Regions from separate parts of the Homo sapiens genome. Here region 2 is linked to region 1. Evidence: promoter capture Hi-C in 16 types of primary human blood cells and fetal thymus (Javierre and others, 2016). All regions are on one chromosome and are shown on one strand. Each heading gives the region's core, a stretch centred on a gene start or on the middle of the fragment in contact. The rest is flanking DNA. Distances are from core to core; before and after follow the strand shown. Region 1 holds the start of BPNT1 (3'(2'), 5'-bisphosphate nucleotidase 1). Region 2 holds the start of C1orf115 (chromosome 1 open reading frame 115).

The links. The method cuts DNA at HindIII sites, captures the fragments that hold promoters and counts their contacts. A CHiCAGO score of 5 or more calls a contact.
Region 2: the fragment with the promoter of C1orf115 here is called in contact with the fragment with the promoter of BPNT1 in region 1 in 2 of 17 cell types (total CD4 T cells and erythroblasts); the score reaches 8.8 in total CD4 T cells.

Annotation. Positions count from the first base shown.
Region 1 is chr1:220,087,778-220,092,139 of GRCh38, forward strand. It overlaps BPNT1 (3'(2'), 5'-bisphosphate nucleotidase 1), which reads right to left and starts at 2,011. Exons shown (of 9, transcript NM_006085.6): 1 at 1,909-2,011. RefSeq lists an enhancer at 2,122-2,311. The HindIII fragment of the contact is 18,631 bases long and covers 1-4,362 here.
Region 2 is chr1:220,687,910-220,692,271 of GRCh38, forward strand. It overlaps C1orf115 (chromosome 1 open reading frame 115), which reads left to right and starts at 2,454. Exons shown (of 2, transcript NM_024709.5): 1 at 2,454-2,802. The coding sequence starts at 2,494. RefSeq lists a silencer at 2,285-2,524. The HindIII fragment of the contact is 6,585 bases long and covers 1-4,362 here.

The DNA of each region.
Region 1 (4,362 bases), core at 761-3,260:
CACTGGCCATTAAATACATAAATACTCAGCTTCACTAATTATGAAAGAAATGCAAACTAAAACAATGAGAAATGATTATTTTATTTTTAATTAATTAATTAATTTATTTATTTTTTGAGACAGAGTTTTTGCTCTTGTTGCCCAGGCTGGAGTGCAATGGCGAGATCTTGGCTCACCGCAACCTCTGCCTCCCGGGTTTAAGCGATTCTCCTGCCTCAGCCTCCCGAGTAGCTGGGATTACAGGCAAGCATCTCCACACCTGGCTAATTTTGTATTTTTAGTAGAGACAGGGTTTCTCCATGTTGGTCAGGCTGGTCTCGAACTTCCGACCTCATGGCCTGCCTAAGCCTCCCAAAGTGCTAGGATTACAGGCGTGAGCCACCGCGCCGGGCCATGATTGTTTATTTTTAAGATTGGCATAGAAAAGAAAATTTGGCAGGGCACGGTGGCTCACACCTGTAATCCCAGCACTTTGGGAGGCCAAGGCAGGTGAATCACCTGAAGTTAGGAGTTCAAGACTAGCCTGGCCAACATGGTGAAACCCCATCTCTACTAAAAATACAAAAATTAACCAGGCATAGTAATACAAAAATTACTCAGGAGGCTGAGGCAGGAAAATTGCTTGAACATAGGAGGCAGAGGTTGTGGTGAGCCGAGATCGCGCCACTGCAGTCCAGCCTGGGCGACAGAGACTCCGACTCAAAAAAAAAAAAAAAAAAAAAAATTGTCGCTGAATGCAGTGGCTCACACCCGTAATCCTAGAACTTTTTGGGAGGCCAAGGCTGGTGTATTGCTTGAGCTCAGGAGTTCGAGACCAGCCTGGGCAACATGGCAAAACCTCGTCTCTACAAAAAAATGCAAAAATTAGATGGTGTGGTGGCACATGCCTGTAGTCCCAGCTGCTCGGGAGGCTGAGGTGGGAGAATCACCAGACCCTGGGAGGTCAAGGTTGCAGTGAGACATAATGGCACCACTGTACTCCAGCCTGGGGGACAGAGCTAGAACCTGTCTTAAAAAAAAAAAAAAAAGAAAGAAAGAAAGGCTGGGCGCGGTGGCTCACGCCTGTAATCCCAGCACTTTGGGAGGCCGAGACGGGCAGATCACGAGGTCAGGAGATCGAAACCATCCTGACTAACACGGTGAAACCCCGTCTCTACTAAAAATACAAAAAAAATTAGCCAGGCTTGGTGGTGGGCGCCTGTAGTCCCAGCTACTCGGGAGGCTGAGGCAGGAGAATGGCGTGAACCTGGGAGGTGGAGCTTGCAGTGAGCCGAGATTGCACCACTGCACTCAAGCCTGGGCGACAGAGCGAGACTCCGTCTCGAAAAAAAAAAAAAAAAAAAAAAAAGAAGGAGGAGGAAGGAGGAGGAAGAAGAAGAAGAAAAAAGAAGAAAGAAGAAGAGTTTGTCCTTTGTCCAGTTTGCAAGGGTGTGAGGGAACATGTTCCTGAGCATTGTTGGCAAAGCGGTGAACCCTCTTAGGAGAGTTTTGAGAACCTTAATAAAAGTATAAAGTACGTATCTTTTGAACCAACAATTATATTTACAGAGAAATCCAAATAAATCACGCAAACCTATAAATATGTAGAAATGGCAGTTGGAAGAATATTTGCTGTTTAAAGAAATTTAATTTTAGGTACCAAGCAGTTTCTAAATTTGGGTGCATCAACAAACTCAATGTCTAGGTTTGTCTTGTTTCTACAGTATATGGCTATAAAAACCTTCCGGATCACGAAAATAAAAGCACAGATAAACAATTAAAATATCGACACTCAAGAGTCCAAGTCGGAAGTTAGAATATCTGGAGAAGCAATCTGATTCACATAAACCTTTTTCGTTTTATTTTTTTAACATAAATCCTATCTACCTGGCTCTTGCCCTGACCGGCCGGAGAGAAACGGTGACAAACCTGGAACAACGTTGGACCAAAGACACTTCAGGAGGAGCAAAAGCGCGTTATCGTAGACCCAGGTCCCTCGTTGTGTCCAGTACCGAGCTTTGGCACTGTCAATAAGTCTTTTGAGAAGGATGGCATCCCTACCTCAGCTACTGAGCATGCGGGAAACTGCGCGCAAGCGCACAACAGCGATTTCACACTGCCTCTTTAGACTCCTGATCCGCGGGAAAATTCCACTTGTCCGTGTTTTCTCCAAGCTCTCCGTAGGTGCAAGTCACCTGTTGCATTAAATAAAAGCGAAAGATGTGTCAACTTTCAAAGATTGGCTAAAAAAAGAAAAAGAAGAAGGAAAGAACACATTAAGCCAGCAACAGTGTGTTGAAACAAAAAAAAGATTGGTTTTGGTTTCAGCTGTCTTCCAGCCCACTTCGTAGAGTTCACTGTTTTAAAATGTTCTTTGTATTAGTGATACCACTCTGCGGCTATTTAACTTCGAACCCCTAGCGGTCCGTGGACAGGCTTCAGCAGGTCCACCACACACACCTCCACCTCCCACTCCCCACGCAATAACACAGCAACTTTATGCAGAATTGTGTCAAAGATGCTTGCTTACCTTTTTTTTTTTTTTTTTTTTTTTTTTTTTAAGCGATAGATAGCTTGCTCTGTCGCCCAGAGTCGATTACGGCTCACTGCTGCCTTCCCACTTCTAGGCTCAAGCCATCCTCCCGCCTCAGCCTTCCGTGTAGCTGGGACTACTGGTGGAGGTGCGCGCCACCACACCCAGCTAATTAAAATATTTTTTGTGTACAGATGGGATCTTTTACTGGGGGGCGTGGTTGGGGAAGGGGGCAGTGTCTCATCCTGTCGCCCAGGCTGGAGTGCAGTGGCGCAGTCTAGGTTCACTACAACCTCCTCCTCCTGGGTTCAAGCGATCCTTCCTCCTTAGCCTCCCAAGTAGCTAGGACTACAGGCGCGCCACCACGCCGGGCTAATTTTGTTTGTTTTTTAAGTAGAGACGGGGTTTCATCATATTGGCCAGGCTGGTCTTGAACTCCTGACCCCAGGTGATCTGCTCACCTCGGCCTCCCAAAGTGCTGGGATTACAGGTGTGAGCCACTGCGCCCAGCTTAAAAAGGCTTTTACGTCTTCATTTGATTTTCACAATAACTCTGTGAGTTAAGTAGACCCTTTTTGGGAAGTGGAAAAATATACATAACTTAAATTATATTACTTTAACCATATATATATATATATATATATATATATATATATATATACACACACACACACACACACATATATACATATATATATTTTTTGAGACGGCGTCTTACTCTGTCGCCCAGGCTGGAGTGCAATGGCTTGATCTCGGCTCACTGCAACCTCTGCCTCCCAGGGTTCAAGCTATTCTCCTGCTTCAGCCTCCTGAGTAACTGGGACTACAGGCGCACACCACCCAGCCCAGCTAGTTTTTGCATTTTTTTTTTTTTTAGTAAAGACGGGGTTTCACCATGTTGGCCAGGCTGGTCTCGAACTCCTGACCTCATGATCCGCCCGCCTCGGCCTCCCAAAGTGCTGAGATTACAGGCATGAGCCACTGCACCTGGCCATACTTTGGTTTTTATAATTAAATTGTATAATTACATGACAAGTACAAATGGCTTAAATAAAGACAAACATAATGCAAGGTAAGCTCAACAAGTGAGAATAGAAATCTGCAGTCATCCTAAAGAGTAGCCATCTCCCAAGTGTTCATTGTATCCTCTCATAGGTTTTACGAGAAAACGGCATAGTTGAATTCAGCAAGTTATGTAGAGGTTGGTTAGGAGAGTTTCTATGTAAATATATCTTTGTGCTCCTGGAAGACTATAGCTGTGATAGATCCCAGATGTGAAACCGTGGGTCAAAGATGAAGTGCATTTTATTTTATTTTTTGGAGATGGAGTCTCGCTCTGTCGCCCAGGCTGGTGTGCAGTGGCCTGATTTCTCACTGCAACCTGTGCCTCCTGAGTTCAAGCGATTCTTCTGCCTCAGCCTCCAGAGTAGCTGGGATTACAGGCGCCTGCCACCACTCCCGGCTAATTTTTTGTATTTTTAGTAGAGACGGGATTTCACCATGTTGGCCAGGTTGGCCAGGCTGGTCTCGAACTCCTGAACTCAGGTGATCCACTTGCCTCAGCCTCCCAAAGTGCTGTGGTTACAGGCGTGAGCCACCGCGCCCAGCTGAAGCGCATTTTAAATGGTGATGGATATTGCTAAATTGCCATTCGGAAATCTCCTGCCTCAGCTTCCCAAGTAGCTGGGACTACAAGCATGCGCCATCACACCCGGCTAATTTTGTATTTTTAGTAGAGATGGGGTTTCTCCATGTTGGTCAGGCTGGTCTTGAACTCCCGACCTCTGGTGATCCACCCACCTTGGCCTCCCGAAGTGCTGGGATTATAGGCATGAGCCACCGCACCTGGC
Region 2 (4,362 bases), core at 1,204-3,703, 600 kb after region 1:
AAAGGGGAAACACGCAAACATGGCCAAAGAAGGAAGATGAGAGAGAGAAGGGGGAGGTGCACACCACCCACTTTTAAACGACCAGATCTCGCGATAACTCACTCACTATTACTAGGATAGCACTGAGGGGATGGTGCTAAGTCATTCATGAAGGGCCACCCTCATGATCCAATCACCTCCCACCAGGCCCCACCTCCAACAGTGGGGATTACAATTCAACATGAAATTTGGTGGGGACATAGAACCAAACTATATCACCATTTGATAAGCAGCCTAGGGTTCTTTGAGGTCGGTTTTGTACAAAAAAAAAAGGGACTACAAGGGTCTCTGTTTGTTTATAAAGTAATAGTTGCTTTAGCAAAATTACAAATCTACAAATCTACTTTCTCTTAACCTTTTAAATTCAAATTACATACTGTTTTAAACTATTTACTCACCCGATAAAATTTTACAATTACTGTAAGGAGGCACTTTTACTGTTTAGTTAATTCTCCTAAACATTTCAAGCAACTTTTACAAATTTAATATTTGACTTTCTTTTCAAGTACTTCAATTCTATAACAAAACTCTAAGTAATTCTTATAAATATAGTAAGTTAAATTCATTTTCATACCCATTTCACCTGAAATTGAATTGTACATAAATTTTATATACTATTTTACATATAAAGACTCTATGTTTTTAAGATTAAATATAAGTCATTACTTATTACCTTATTACATAAGTTAAATAAAAGCGTAAATCAATTAGCTGATTACTTTTTTTTTTTTTTTTGAGACAGAGTCTCACTCTGTTGCCCAGGCTGGAGTGCCGTGGCACGATCTCCGCTCACTGCAACCTCTGCCTCTTGGGTTTAAGCGATTCTCCTCCTCAGCCTGCCGAATAGCTGAGACTACAGGAGCACGCCACCATGCCTGGCTAATTTTTGTATTTTTAGTAGAGACAGGGTTTCACTATATTGGCCAGGCTGGTCTCGAACTCCTGACCTCAGGTGATCCACCGCCTTGGTCTCCCAAAGTGTTGGGATTACAGGTGTGAGTCACCGCACCGAGCCACACATTTTCACTTTTTTAGAAATGGGGCCTACGTTGCTCAGAACTCCTAGCCTCAAGGGATCCTCCCACCACAGCCTGTGGAGTTGCTGGGATTACAGGTGAAAGTCACCATGCTGGCTCACATTTTAAGTTGGAATCACAAAACTAATTTCTTTTGCATCCTAGTGAACTAAATTGTCGTAAACATTGTATGTGCTTATACCAACATATACACGTTATTCTTAAATTTAATCACAAACTTTAATGTTAAAATATCAGTGTATCTAACAATCTATGTTATTTTATACCTAAGTATTTTTTTGAGATGGGATCTCACTCTGTCGACCCCTTTGGAGCGCAGTGGCACAATCATAGCTCACTGCAATCTCCACCTTCCAGGATCAAGCGATCTCCCTACCTCACTGGGACTACAGGTAAACTTTTGTATTTGTTTTTCTATTTCTAGAGATGAGGTCTCCCTGTGTTGCCCAGGCTAGTCTCAAACTCCCAGGCCCAAGCGATCCTCCTGAATAGCTGGGATCACAGGTGTGCGCCCCTACGCCTGGCTAATTTTTTTTTTTTTTTCTAGAGATGGAGGTCTCACTATGTTGCCCAGGCTGTTCCCCAACTCCTGGGCTGAAGCTATCCTCCCGGCCTCTCAAAGTGCTGGGATTACAGGCGTGAGCCACTGCTTTCGGCCCTTAATTCTACATTAGCCAGAATTCAAAGGCATTTACCCACTTAAGAAAATAGGGCACTCTCAGCTTGTTGAGATTCACAGTACACTGATAATGCTTATCTCACAGAGAGATATTCCTGAAAATCATGATTTTAAAGACTGCGCCATATGCTGGCATGTCTGCACCAGAATTTCCTTTGCGCCTCCCTGTTGGTTTGCTCCACTTTTTCACTGAGTCAGACCGTTGAACACCGTGGACACACTGTCTTGCGTTTCCGAATATTTCCTAGAATACGGACGTTTCCTAAGACTCACGATAAAGATTTTCTGATCGTCTCTCCAAAACCTTGCCACCAATTTGCACTCCCACGAATCCTGTTACCGTGACTATCTCGCCATGCCCTCCCTAGCACTGAGCGTGATCTCTAGTATCATTTTCCATCGTTGCTAATTTGAACATGAGCAGATGGAGTCCTATTATTTGGGGTCATTAATTTCGTAGCAAGTGCAGTTGAAGGTGTTTTGCATGTTCATTGTGCAGTGCGCGCCGTAGTCTGCACAGTTTGGCCGGCAGGTGGGATGAAGGGCGGGGCTGGCGGAGCGCGCCCGCCGCCTGGTAGGCCAGTTCGGAGCGGAGCCAACGCTATCCCGGGCCCCACGGCCAGGGGGCGCTGCGGCCCCCCCAATCCCCCGCCCCGTCCGGGCTGGGGCGGAGGAGCGGGCGGGGACCAAAGGTTGGTGTCTTTGCGCTCGGACCTTCGCCAGAGGGGCCGGGACATCATGACGGTGGGAGCCAGGCTCCGAAGCAAGGCGGAGAGCAGCCTCCTGCGCCGCGGGCCCCGAGGGCGAGGGCGAACCGAGGGGGACGAGGAGGCGGCCGCCATCCTGGAGCACCTGGAGTACGCGGACGAGGCGGAGGCGGCGGCCGAGAGCGGGACGAGCGCGGCGGACGAGCGGGGCCCGGGGACCCGGGGCGCGCGGAGGGTGCACTTCGCCCTCCTGCCCGAGCGCTACGAGCCACTGGAGGAGCCGGCGCCGAGCGAGCAGCCCAGGAAGAGGTACCGGAGGAAGCTGAAGAAGTACGGCAAGGTAGGGGCCCTGCGCCACCACTGCCCGGGGGGCGCGGGTGTGGTGTCCCGCGGGGGAGCGGGAGCCGGGTCCTTACCATCGACTCACCCAGTTTCTCCGGGCTGCACCTGCGACCCCTCCGCCCCCGCTCCCATTCCCTCGCCGGAGGGAAGCCGCGAGTTGCGAGTCGTGATAGAAACTTAAATCGGGGGTTGCGCTGGGTGGTCCCTGCTGTGCCTGCTATTGCGCTCCTGGCTTCTTAAGAACATTCTCAAGGGGCTCCTACCGCGGTGGTTTTTATGTAAGATCAGGAATCAGTTTCCTGATTACAGATGGGAATACTGAAGCGTTAGCGCGGCAGGTGACTTGGAGAAGGTGGCCCAGTTGGAAAGAAAGAAATTGCAACCCAGTGTATTTGTTTTCCAGTAACATCCCCTCCAGGATATCCCACTAGTTGAGAAATGTTTGGGTTACTCTCCCAAATATTCCCAAGGTTATTTCCCGAGCCTGGGAGCGCAACAAATACATAAATAGGCGCTCGTTGAATTTTTCTCGTCTAGCCAACTATCAGTGTACTCTGGGGCCTTCAAAACATTCTGCCGTTTGTCTCGGGGAGATGGGGTTAGGAAGAATGAATATGGGAGAAAATGACAGTTTCCTTCGCGGAAATCAAAGCGCAGATGCAGTTCCCAGGTGTCTCTGCATGGAAACAGTCGAAGCTGCTGCCGGAAGCTCTGCTGGCCTGGACAAGGCCACCCAGAATAAAGTCACAGAAGTTACTGTGTCCTGGCCAAAGGCCACGGGCCCCATCTGATTTATTGTCTATTTATCTGTGTTGCCCAATGCCGTCTTACACCTGAAGCCATTCAGTCTCCATGCCTGGGAGCTTAGGTTTATCATCCTCTTTAAAGGTATGTCAGCAGCTTCTGGAGCAGAATACAGGCAGGGGTAAAACTATAAAGTTGGGTCTTTCAGGCTTAGAGCCCTGCTAGGACGATTCATCTCTGCTTTGGGTCCCAGTTGAGCACAAAGAAGCCATCATGTCCCTCTCCATTGGTGAACTGATACTGCAGAAACCTCAGCTCAAGGACTAGGACTTGAAGATATTTTGGGGGCACTCATTATGCGTCAGGCATTGTGCTGAGCAGTAGAGATGCGAAAATGAATACAGTGCAGCCCTGCCCTAGAGAAGGGCACAGCCTCCCAGGGAGACACTGACATAGCTGGCTCCCCCCGCCCCCGGGGGGGCTTCAGGGCACAGAGCTCAGGCAGTTCACTCCTCAGCGGTGAGCTTGTAAACTCAGGGAAGTTTTCAAATCACGGTGACATGAAAACTGGGCACAGAAGGATGAGTTAAGATTTCACCAGATAACAGTGAAGTGGTATGAAGTAGGCACACTTCATCCCCACTAGAACGGCTACTCCAAAAAATGTCCAAACAAACCGAATAACAAATGTTGGCGAGAATGTAGAGAAATTGGAACCATTGTACATTGCTGGTGGGAATGTAAAATGGGACAGCTGCTGTGGAAAACAATTTGGGAGTTCCTTAAAAAGTTCAGTGTAGACTTATTCTGTGAT